2 separate regions of the Homo sapiens genome follow, and region 1 is linked to region 2. Evidence: promoter capture Hi-C in 16 types of primary human blood cells and fetal thymus (Javierre and others, 2016). All regions are on one chromosome and are shown on one strand. Each heading gives the region's core, a stretch centred on a gene start or on the middle of the fragment in contact. The rest is flanking DNA. Distances are from core to core; before and after follow the strand shown. Region 1 overlaps LINC00667 (long intergenic non-protein coding RNA 667). Region 2 holds the start of L3MBTL4 (L3MBTL histone methyl-lysine binding protein 4).

Region 1 (5,357 bases), core at 909-3,408, 1.2 Mb before region 2:
CAGATTCTAATGTCTGGTAAAATGCTTTACAGTGTAAAGAATGCATATATGATTCTTATTTTATGGCATTTTAAACTTTCCACCCCACGGTTTTAAAGTGTTAATATATGTTAAAAATATATGCAATTTATAAAGGAGAAGGAAAGCCCAGCTTGATTTTTGCTGCCAAAGATGGTATATTTAAAATTAAACGTAACTAATGGCAAAAAATAATGGGAATGGTGCAGTCTTTGAGCTGTATCCAGTTGGCATTATTCTCTTGGACTAAAAGGAATAGTATTAACTTCCTCACTTTGGGTAAGCCACTTTAGATTTTTGGGCTGCAGTTTTCTCAGGTAATTAGAGACTTTATATTATGAAAGTTTGGTTCACAATTCTTTGAGTCTCTTTTGGGAACAAAGAAGGTAAGAGGAGGATATGTGCCCTCCTCTCAATCAAGGGGTTTCTTGAAACCCTCTAAGGAGAAAAATCTGAAACTGCCTTTCCTAAAACGTTCATGGGTTTGTCATTCTGATGATCAATATCGTCCCACTGAAGTATCTTTTTGAATTCCTAGTTAGGAATCTTTATGTTAAGATAAACTGATCACTCTCTCCTTCGTGGACAGTTTATCTACCTAAAGATGATAGGGGAAAACACTGTTTTTGAAAGACGAAATAAAGACATGTTGTAGCAGTTATTTTATTGCCAGTTAGTATTACAAAAGTTCCTAAGGAACTCCCCATTAACTTGGCCTCATATGAACTACGCTTGAGTCCCGTTTTAAATTGAGTCTTGATCGTATTTACTGACAGTTTCAAAGCAGCGTTTTTTTTTTTCCTCCATAGTAAAAAACCTACAGGATACCACCACCAAAGGAAAAAACAAGTTTTTTTCAGTAAACCTCACAAGAGCATACATTTGATAGAATACACGGATTTTCTAATGAAAGCTCGCCGTCACCATTTTATAAGTCAGAACATGAAAGTCAAAATATCTCATACAGATGTCTTTTTTTTTTGAGAAGGTACACAAGGCTTGCTTGTAGAGATGGAGTTACATGGAGGGACAGAAGGTCACTGGTCAGTGATTTTAGGTTTTTATACTTCTGAAAACAGGTAATTACAGATTCTGATCAGTTTATCATTTTCTTTAGTCTTTTATTTTCTGCTGAATGCTCTCAAGGGAACGGATCCATACCTGTTTATCAGGCTCACCTGGAAGAGCCAAGTCATCCACTCAGGTCTTCCTCTGGACCTGCATAATTTCCTCATTTACTAGATTGGGTTTCTTTTATGTGTGGGCTTTTAATGCTTGGTATCTCTGGTCTTCCTAATATGTAATGCTTAGCATAATAATTTTAGCCATTATTCATTTTTGTAGTAGGCTTCACTAGCTTCCTGCTTCTCAAATCCCTTGAAAAGATGAGATTTTTTTTTCGTGGAGTTCACGTCTAGTAAGTTGGTCTTGATTTTTTTTTTCTTTCAGAACCTTCTGGATTTCAGCTTTGGCAAGCTTCCTCTGTTTCTGAGACACCTCCATCACCTGGGTTACAATCCCATCCATGATTTTCCCCATCTCCAGGCATTTTTCATGGAAAGCTCCTCATGCTTTTTAATTCCAGTTTATCCATTTGTGTGGCTTTAACCTCCACATCCAGGTCTTTCTGGCTAAACTGCAGTATATCCACAATGGGGCCAATGGACACATAAGGGAGGCCCTATCACAGGAACACGAACACCCGGAGTCGCTAGAAATCAGATTCCACCGGCTTTGCTTCAGGCCGACTTCCTAAGGAAGGCATGGTAGCATCACAGATGCTGTTTGTCTCAGTTTCCTGAGAAGCCAGTTTCTTAGAGCTGTCATTCAAGAGTGGGTCAAATTTGAGATATAAAAACCTTTCTCAAGGTAGACTCTTTGGCCCCTATGCCTAGTATGTCAGCTGGGCCTCTGAAGCTCTCCTCTTTGAGGTCCTGGCAGGCTCTGGCCCCTGTTGAGAAGGGGAAGCAGTCATGTGAACTCATGTGCTGGAAGAATCCACTCTACCCCTTCCCTGGCTTCTCTGCTGCAATTTTTGTCTTTAAACGTATTTTCAGGTGATTCCAGTTTGCATACATAATTGAGAAATATAAGATTTGGTCCCCAGTAGAGAGCCAGGTGAACTTAAGAAGGAGTCCATCTAAGAAAATTGCACAATTATCTAGTTTCACTTGGGTTTAGCTTTTATGGCTTACTTGATTTAGTAATCAAATGATTTTCAAATGATTTTGATCAGGTGACTCTTCGTAAACTAGAGAATGAACTTGAGAGCCGAATTAGCACAGTTTAAAAATAATCATTTAGTTTTTGTTCTCTATTGTGTAAATTATTGAGGTTTGACTGTCTTGGCTAAACTAAGGCTCATCTAATATCTTTATTTTTGATATCCTAATTTCTTGCCAATTAATTGAAGGTAACATACTAGCAGACCAGATAACTACTTATGCAAACCTCAGATAACCACTAATTTAAACAAAATTAAATCCTTTGCCTTCCCCAGATCCTTTGCACATGGCCTGCTATCAACAATCCTCTACAATGATTCTCAGCATCACCTAGGGAGCTTATGTAAAATCTCAAATTCCTGGGCCCTATCCCCAGAGTTTCTTATCAAGTAAGTCTGCATTGGGATCTGAGGATTTGCATCTCTAACAAAAATTCCTAGGCGATGCTCACACTGTTGGTGTAAGGGTGAGTACAAATTAGAAATAAAACTATTTAATTCTGCCTGGTGCAAAGGAGAGAGAGAGACTTTTACCCTCCACATCCTTTTCTTTGGTCATTTACTTTAGGAAACTTAATTGTAAGCTTTTTCTGTGCCTCTTTGAAATGCCTGTAAATCTTTCCAAAAACTAAATTAGGCTTTTGCCAATTTTACAACCTAAGAATGTGAATTCCTCAAGGACCTGGGAGCTATCTCACTGAAATTTAATCATTGAGAAAAATAGTACCCCTATCTTTCAGCTTCCTGGAAACATAAGAGCCTAACTTTATTAGGCACCTTGCTCCATTACAAAGCTATCTTCTGTCATAAAGATACAAGAAATTTATTTTTCCCTTGGACAAAAGCAACTAACTAGCAGAGGGTCACCAAAATTACCAGGTGAATTTAGGGTGAACTCTGTGTGACAAATGGTGCTGCCAAGTTCTCTTGAGTACTATAGAAAGTGCATGACATGAATTTTTTACTTCATGATGGTGCAAAACCATTGCTTTTCACTTTCAGTATAATATTCAAGAAATTACATATTGAATATAAGATATTCAATATCTTATTCTTTATTATAGGCTTTGTGTTATATAATTTTGCCCAACTAACTGTAGGCTAATGTAAGTGTTCTGAACATGTTGAAGGTAGGTTAGACTAAGCTCTAATGTTCAGTAGGGTAGGTGTATTAAGTGCATTTTCAACTTACGAAATTTAAGCTGATATCCAAAGAATGAGTAAGAATGAGGTAAAGGAGCAAGAAAACATTGCTTCAGGCAAAGGAATAGTATGTGCAAAAGCCCTGGGGTTTAAGAATATGATGTTTTTAGAGAACTGCAAATAATTCAGTATGGTTGGAGCAGAGGGATGTGGAATGATTATTGATTCTGTTGGAGAGTAGACAGAGGCCAGATTGCTATGCTTAGATACAATTTCAACCACCTACAAATCCATCTAATTACCTACATGACCATCATCATCTGGTCATGTTTCTCCATTTTATCATTATGTATACCTTAAAGACTTGCTCACATTACTTAAAATTGAGATAGGTTAGGCATCTATCCAATCTCCCATGCCAGTAATTCTACAGAAACAGATTAGGTTAGCTAGATAAGCATGTTTACAATTAAATTTATGCTGTATCCTTCTAATCACCACTTTCTCATCAAAATGCTCACAAATCATCTGCATCATTGTCCATTCTTTAAAAATGTATAAACCCATCTCTACTAAAAATACAAAATTAGCTGGGCATGATGGCGCACGCCTGTAATCCCAGCTGTTCAGGAGGCTGAAGCAGAAGAATTGCTTGAACCCCGGAGACGGAGGTTGCAGTCAGCCGAGATTGCACCATTGCTCTCTAGCCTGGGCAACAAGAGCAAAACTCCATCTCAAAAAAAAAAAAAAAAGTATAAATTTGTATCAAGCATGCTGGCTTGAGGGTTTAAGGAATTTCTTTTTTTTATTTCTGACATACTTCTGTGGAGTGTGTTTTGCTTTCATTTTTGTTGTATTGTTTGTAATTTACACTATTAACAGTTTCTATTAGTGCTGTGGAATTAATTCCTCTTGTGCTGAAGATAGAAATATATTATTTCTAGGAAGAAATTGTCCTTATCGTCTTCACTAATATTGGACTTAGAGAGTCCTCCTATAAGACATGTTCTGTTTTTCATTTTGAACAGTTTCCTTGATGGAGAACTATCAAAGCAGTCAAAGCTATCAAAATAAAAAAGAATTCTGATTGGGTGCAGTGGCTCACACCTGTCATTCCAGCACTTTGAGAGGCCAAGGTGGGCAGATCACATGAGGCCAGGAGTTCAAGACCAGCCTGGCCAACATGGCAGAAACCCCATCTCTACTAAAAATACCAAAATTAGCCGGGCATGGTGGAACACACCTGCAATCCCAGCTACTCGGGAGGCTGAGGCAAGAGAATCGCTTGAACCTGGGAGGCAGAAGTTGCAGTGAAACAAGTTGGTGCCAATGCATTCCAGCCTGGATGATGGAGCGAGACTCTGTCTCAAGAAAAAAAAAACAAAAACAAAAACAGAACTCTGCCTCATAGCGTCTTTTAAGTTATACACTGGACCTATCCTTTCCTCACTGACAGACATTTTAAAAATTTTTTGGTAAGGCCTAGTTCATATAAAATGTAATCCAAGCCAAAAGTTAACAAGAATAAGGGGAGGAAAGGGGACTCCAATAGCAGAGAAAGGTATTTACCTGGGATATACACTGCAAGAAAATCAAAGCTATAAGAAACGTCCATGAATAGTAGCCATAAGGCATCAGAGTGATAAAATTCCTGTCCCTAGGAGGGAATATTGGAGTTTGCCAGAGAAACAGAATGAGAGAGACAGAGAGGTTTATTGTAGGAATTGGCTCATATGATTACGGAGGCTGAGAAGACCCACGATCTGCCATCTGCAAGCTGGAGAATCAGGAAAGCTGGAGGTGTAATTCAGTCAAGTCCAATGGCCAGAGAAGCAAGTGTACTGATATCCAAGAGCAGGAGAAAATAGATGTCCCAGAACAAGCAGAGAGGCTGATTTTGTCCTTCCTCTGCCTTTTTGTTTCATATGGGGCACTGAATGGACTGATGCCCATCCACATTAGTGAGGGTGGA
Region 2 (5,704 bases), core at 344-2,843:
CTCACATCTAAGAGCATAATTAATAGCAGTTTTATGTTCATCTTCCTTCCTACTCAACCATTACACACCAAGTCAGTGTAGTCGAATCCAATCCCTTTGGATACTCCAAGAAAAAAACCTCTCCTCTTTCAACCGTTTCTCCTAATTCTGTAGTAATATAAGGAATGCATTCCAAGTTTTTAATATTACCAAGGGCCAAAAACAACTCTACTGTACCCACCACCTGTTTGTCACCTTAACCTTTTTAGGTGGAATAGATTAGAAAACCGAAGAGCCACACTACACTTATTTCAGCCAAGGACTGAAACTGGAGCCTGCCACAAGCATCTTCTAGAACAGCTCCAACAGAAGGATCCAGGAGATGGGCCACCAGCAAGTCATAGTGGAGTCCAAACAAGTGTGAAGTGAGAGCGAGTCTTCAGCATGGGAATGGCCGAGTGGGTCGTGGTGACCAGCTGCCTTCCTCTGACTGTTAAGTACAGCAGTCTCAACAGTAACAATGACCAGGCCTTCCCTTTATTTAGTTCCACCTCGGGGCATTGGCGCATTAAGAATGTCCCTCTAAAGGCATATGTAAGATAAAGCACACTTCGCACTTTAACCAGTGACTAAGGGAGATCAAAAGCAGGGGACAATACCCACCCGGAATTTGCGACCTCGCGAAAACGCTCTCACCAATCCCGCAGGTAAGTGCGGCGCTGGCCCAGGTGTGCCCAGCTCGACTCGCGTCCACCTGGGACCAAGCGGGCCCAAGAAGGCCCGGAGAGCAGGCGAGGGCGACTGTGGCCGGCGCGCCCCCCGCAGTTCCAGGCGGTGGCAGGAGCCTGAGAGCCGCCGTCCCAGGCTGGCCAGGCGCCCGCCCGCCCTGCGCGCACTCCCTGGGCTCCCGCTCCCGAGGCTGGGCAGAACTCGCAGAGGAAGACAAGGGCAGAAAGCGGGTGGAGGGAGGCAGCGCTCGCCCGTCCGGGCACACGACACTTGTCGGCTGAGGGGGACACGCGGGCAGACGGGGGCGTTAGCCCCAGAGGAAACAAAAGCCAAATGCCCACCGCCGGGCGCTCGATGGCCGGAGGACTGCCTGGGGGCCCTCAGGAGTCCCGTCCCGTCCCGCTCCCCCGGTCCCAGGCTGCGCTGGCTCCAGGGCGCCCAGGTAGCCGCGCCTGGCACCCCGACCCTGCCCTCGCGGCTGACCGAGGCGCCGGGCTCTGCGGCGGCCGCGCCCGTCCAAAGTAGGCGACAAGTGAGGCAGCGCCTCTCGCGGGGAGCCCGGCGCGCGCCCCGGCGGCGAAAGAGAAAGAGAAAGAGCCTGGGCCGGGACCGGGGCTATCCCCAACCGCCACCGCCCCCACCGGCCCGGCCCTCGCCGCGGGAGTCGTGCAGGCCCCTCTACCTGCCCGGGGATGGGGCCACCCCGCGCGGCGGCGGCCGTGGGCACCCACGCGGGCTCGCGACCATCCCACGCGGGCGGCGGCGTCCTTCTTACCCCCAGCGGAGCGGCGCCTGCCCGCAACGCCGACCGAGCTACAGGCGGGGGGCGAGTCGGAGCGCGAGGTTCCGCCAGCCCAGGCTGCGGCGCCGCTGCCCCGCGGTGCCCGGCGGGAGGGGCGCGAGGGTGCACGCGCGGGGTGGGGGCGCGGGAGCCGCCCCCTGCCCGCCCCGCGCGCATGCTCCCGCCGCACCTGCCTCGCTCAGTGTTCCACACCCCGGGGAGCCGGGTGGCGCTGGGCCCGCCGAGGTCGGGGCTTTCCCATGGGAGGGAGGTGGCTGCGGCGGAATTTTCAGATGCGTCCTTCTCTGTATTCGTTCCCTGGGAAGGATTCCCCCAAATCTTGGCTACTTCCTGCCTGCCAGCTTGCTCCCTGGCAGCGAAGTCCCAGTAGCTCACCCATGCTTCATCCCAGCTCTTGGGGTTCACCGTCTGAAGGCTCTCTCCTCCGGATCCCTCTCGGTCCTGCTGCTCGCTCCGATTTTGCAACCTCCCCCACTCCCCTTTCCTGCTCTTGACTTTGCTACTCACGAGTACCTGGATACCATTTCCAAATAAAAGAATACTCTTTCCAAGTGGCAAGCAGTGTTTACTGACCCTGTTCTAACTGCTTGGAATTGAGCAGGAAACAGGAGCTGGGTAGATCCTGCCCTCATGGAACTTATGGCCTTACTGGCTAGCTTTGGCCTTTCTCAAAGCATTGTCTCCCAGTTTGGGAGGACTGTATTAAATCATTTATTTTGGCTTACAAATAAAGGTAGCTGATAATTGAAGACTATATGTTGTGACTTTTGAATGAAATGTTCTTTCATAGGACGCCTTGTGTATAAACCCTAGTATGCAAATAATAAATAGTAGGTACTAAATAAGTATTAGTTTGTTGCTTTCAGCAGGAAATTGAATCATTTAGCAGGATTAACAATGATACCATCCAAAATGATCTTTTTGGTTTGTCGTGGGCTACCATAAACAGAGAATGAAAACTTGCTTTTTAGGTGAGACTGGGCATTGTTGAAACATAATTTCGTGTCCTTACTGAAAAGAGAAATATAAACCCCTTTGCTAATGAAGTTTTTAAACTAGGAACAATGATCATAGAAATTTGTAAGTGCAAACACACGATTTGTGTTCTGTGCTCTAGTCAGTTAAGAAAAATATATTAGCCAGGTATGGCGGCTCACATCTGTAATCCCAGCACTTTGGGAGGCCGAAGAGGGCGGATCACTTGAGGTCAGGAGTTCGAGACCAGCCTGGCCAACATGGTGAAACCCTGTCTCTACTAAAAATACGAAATTAGCTGGGTGTGGTGGCGGGCGCCTGTAATCTCAACTACTCGGGAGGCTGAGACACTAGAATCGCTTGAACCTGGGAGGCAGAGGCTCCAGTGAGCTGAGATAGTACCACTGCACTCCAGCCTGGGCAACAGAGCGAAACTCCAACTCAAAAAAAAAAAAAAGAAGAAGAAAAAGAAAAACAAAAAGAAAAAGATATTAGAGACAAAGAGAAAAAGAAAGAAGTAGAAGACCTCAGTAGCGAGAGGAAAACATTTGAAACTCAGTTCCAACCAATTTTAACATTGTGCTAAGGACTTACAGTGTTGCATTACTGTGACAATGGGCATGCCTGCAGGTACCACCTTTGGTTGGATACTTGTTCACCAGATTGGATGAAATTAGAACGGGACTCAGCAGGTGAGAGTTCCACCTCCCTGCTACTCACAGGAACACGGATACCATTTTTGGTGAAGGATAAAGTGCTTCAATTATTGCAGTGTATCCCCAGTCCATCCCAGAGGTATTTATTTATCATTGGAGATTCTAGGTATTAGTAATAGAGATATCAAAATGTCCCCAGCACAGAAAGAGTTAAGTGCACTTCTGGTTCCAGGAGCCCTTCAGAAAAGTGAATATTGATGTTATAATATATGAAATCAAAGAAGAAAGCTGGATTGAAATCCAAATAAAGTGAATTTACATCAGCTTATCTTCACTTCTTGGGGGGAAACAATTGTTTTTATAACATGTTTATTGACTATATTTGGTTTAAGTTTATGAAAGCAGACACACTGTTTTCAGGGGCTGGGTTTACATAAGGAAAAGGATACACCAATGAAACAAGTTGAAACAGGCAGGAAACCTCATCTACAGCTACTTAAATGTAAGTGCATAGGTGCATAGTGCTGACAACATATGATTCTGTTCAGAGAAGCTGACATCTGTCTTAAACTACACTGTTATTCAAATTTTATGGAAATATAAGCAGGAACGCATTAGTACACTTCTTACAAAATTTTTGAAAGCTGTTGTAGTAAATCCCTTTTATCTGAACGGCTGCAGATTAAAATGAAATAGCCATATTGTTGATTTTTATAACTTTGCTAATGATCCATCATGAGCAAAGGGGTTTATAGCATTGGTAGTTGCTAGGCATTTTACTTTTATAATTCAGTTGAATCCAACCAACTCTCAATGCAAAGTTGACCAGATAGACAAGGATGGTTTATTGTTAAGATAGAAATTTCTGATGGCATGATACAGAGAACCCCTTTCTGGAGGTCATCAAAACATAACAGGCACAGCAGTCCTATAATGTGTCCATCTATTGTCAATGAAAATGAAACTTTCCACCTGCTAAGATAGTGACTGGTTTTATCCAAGGAACTCTCCATTTTAAAAACTTCGCTAAACTTGTTTACATTTTTCTGGCTGGTTGTGTATGTTTCTTTTCTTTACTTTTCTTTTTTGAGACAGGATCTTGCTCTGTCACCCAGGCTAGAGTGCAGTGGTATGATCATGGCTCACTGTAGCCCCCACCTCCCAAGCTCAACTGATCCTCCCACCTCAGCCTCCAGAGAAGCTGGGACCACAGGCATGTGCCACCACTTCTGGCTAATTTTTTAAATTTTTTTGTAGCGATGGAGGTCTCACTGTATTGCCTAGGCTGGTCTCAAATTGCTGGGGTCAAGCAATCCTCCCCGCTTAACCTCCCAAAGTGCTGGCATTACAGTCATGAGCCACAAGGCCTGGCCTATATTTCTTTTCTAAGTAGGATTAAATTACATTGCTTTATTATTTGATCAATAGCAGGATTGGCTCTTGGTAGCAGTGTGGGTTTTTTCTGTGTTTTTTTGAGACAAGGTCTCGCTTTATCACCCAGGCTGGAGTGCACTGGTGCCACCACAGCTCACTGCAGCCTTGACCTCTGGGCTCAGGTGATCCTCCTGCCTCAGCCTCCTGGGTAGCTGGGACCACAGGTGTACAGCACTATGCCTGGCTAATTTTTAAACTATTTGTAGAGATGGGGTTTAATATGTTTTTAAGACTTGAGATTGTTTCTTAGCATATATTTTGAATATGACCATTTGGGAGAATTTAACACAGAGTGAATTTCTTTATATGCTTTGGTATAACTGAGGAGAAGTTATCTTAACAGAATTCTATACTTGCTTGGACAAGCAAATTTTCCACAGCAACCAAAAATATTTCATTAGTCACTATCTTCAACAACTATTATCATCAAGTTTATTTTCATGTTAATGCCACTGTTAATAATTTTCTATGTTACAGTTGTGTTTTCCTACATGGATGGTCCAATATTAAGCTTCCTTTAGTGGGTCGAGGTATAAATAATTGCATAGCATACTATTTAAATGTAAATACTGGTTCAGAAAGAAGTGTAAATTATATTGAATAATTAAAAATAATTTTATTTATTTATTTACTTTGGTAGAGATAGAGTCTTACTGTTTTGCCCAGGCTGGTCTTGAAATCCTGGCCTCAAGCCACCCTCCGGCCTTGGCCTCCCAAAGTATTGAGATTACAGACATGAGCCACCATGCCCAGTCTAAAACCAATTTTAAATAAATGATATCATAAAGCTTTATAAATAAGATAATATGCACATTATGTGATTTTGAACAAATGACTTAAAATCTATATAGAAATCTACTTACTTGTACATTTGTGCTTTCTTTTAGTTGAACAAAGTTATCAAAAAGTAGCTTAAAAATACTCCCTTCAGGTCTACTTCCTTGAATTTTTAAAAATCCAACATAGACATAATTTTTCTGATGATGCTTAGAGTCTGTATAAACTGAACAAGATAAGAATCCTCTTGTCAATAAAAAAAAAAAAAGCTTCACTTCCCACTACAACCAATACCGAATAAGCTAATGGCATTTAAAGAAAGGCATGAAAACTCCAGAAGGAAAAATAGCAG

The links. The method cuts DNA at HindIII sites, captures the fragments that hold promoters and counts their contacts. A CHiCAGO score of 5 or more calls a contact.
Region 1: a contact is called between a fragment that was not itself captured here and the fragment with the promoter of L3MBTL4 in region 2, in 1 of 17 cell types (total B cells). The highest score is 5.3, in total B cells.

The regions. Positions count from the first base shown.
Region 1 is chr18:5,239,181-5,244,537 of GRCh38, forward strand. It overlaps LINC00667 (long intergenic non-protein coding RNA 667), which reads left to right. Exons shown (of 3, transcript NR_015389.1): 2 at 2,519-2,632; 3 at 4,414-5,357. It also overlaps the pseudogene LOC100422274. Among named protein-coding and RNA genes, the nearest start is that of LINC00667, 3.8 kb to the left of the region's middle. The HindIII fragment of the contact is 1,332 bases long and covers 1,493-2,824 here.
Region 2 is chr18:6,413,318-6,419,021 of GRCh38, forward strand. It overlaps L3MBTL4 (L3MBTL histone methyl-lysine binding protein 4), which reads right to left and starts at 1,594. Exons shown (of 19, transcript NM_001330559.2): 1 at 1,484-1,594. RefSeq lists a silencer at 1,097-1,636. The HindIII fragment of the contact is 5,527 bases long and covers 1-5,084 here.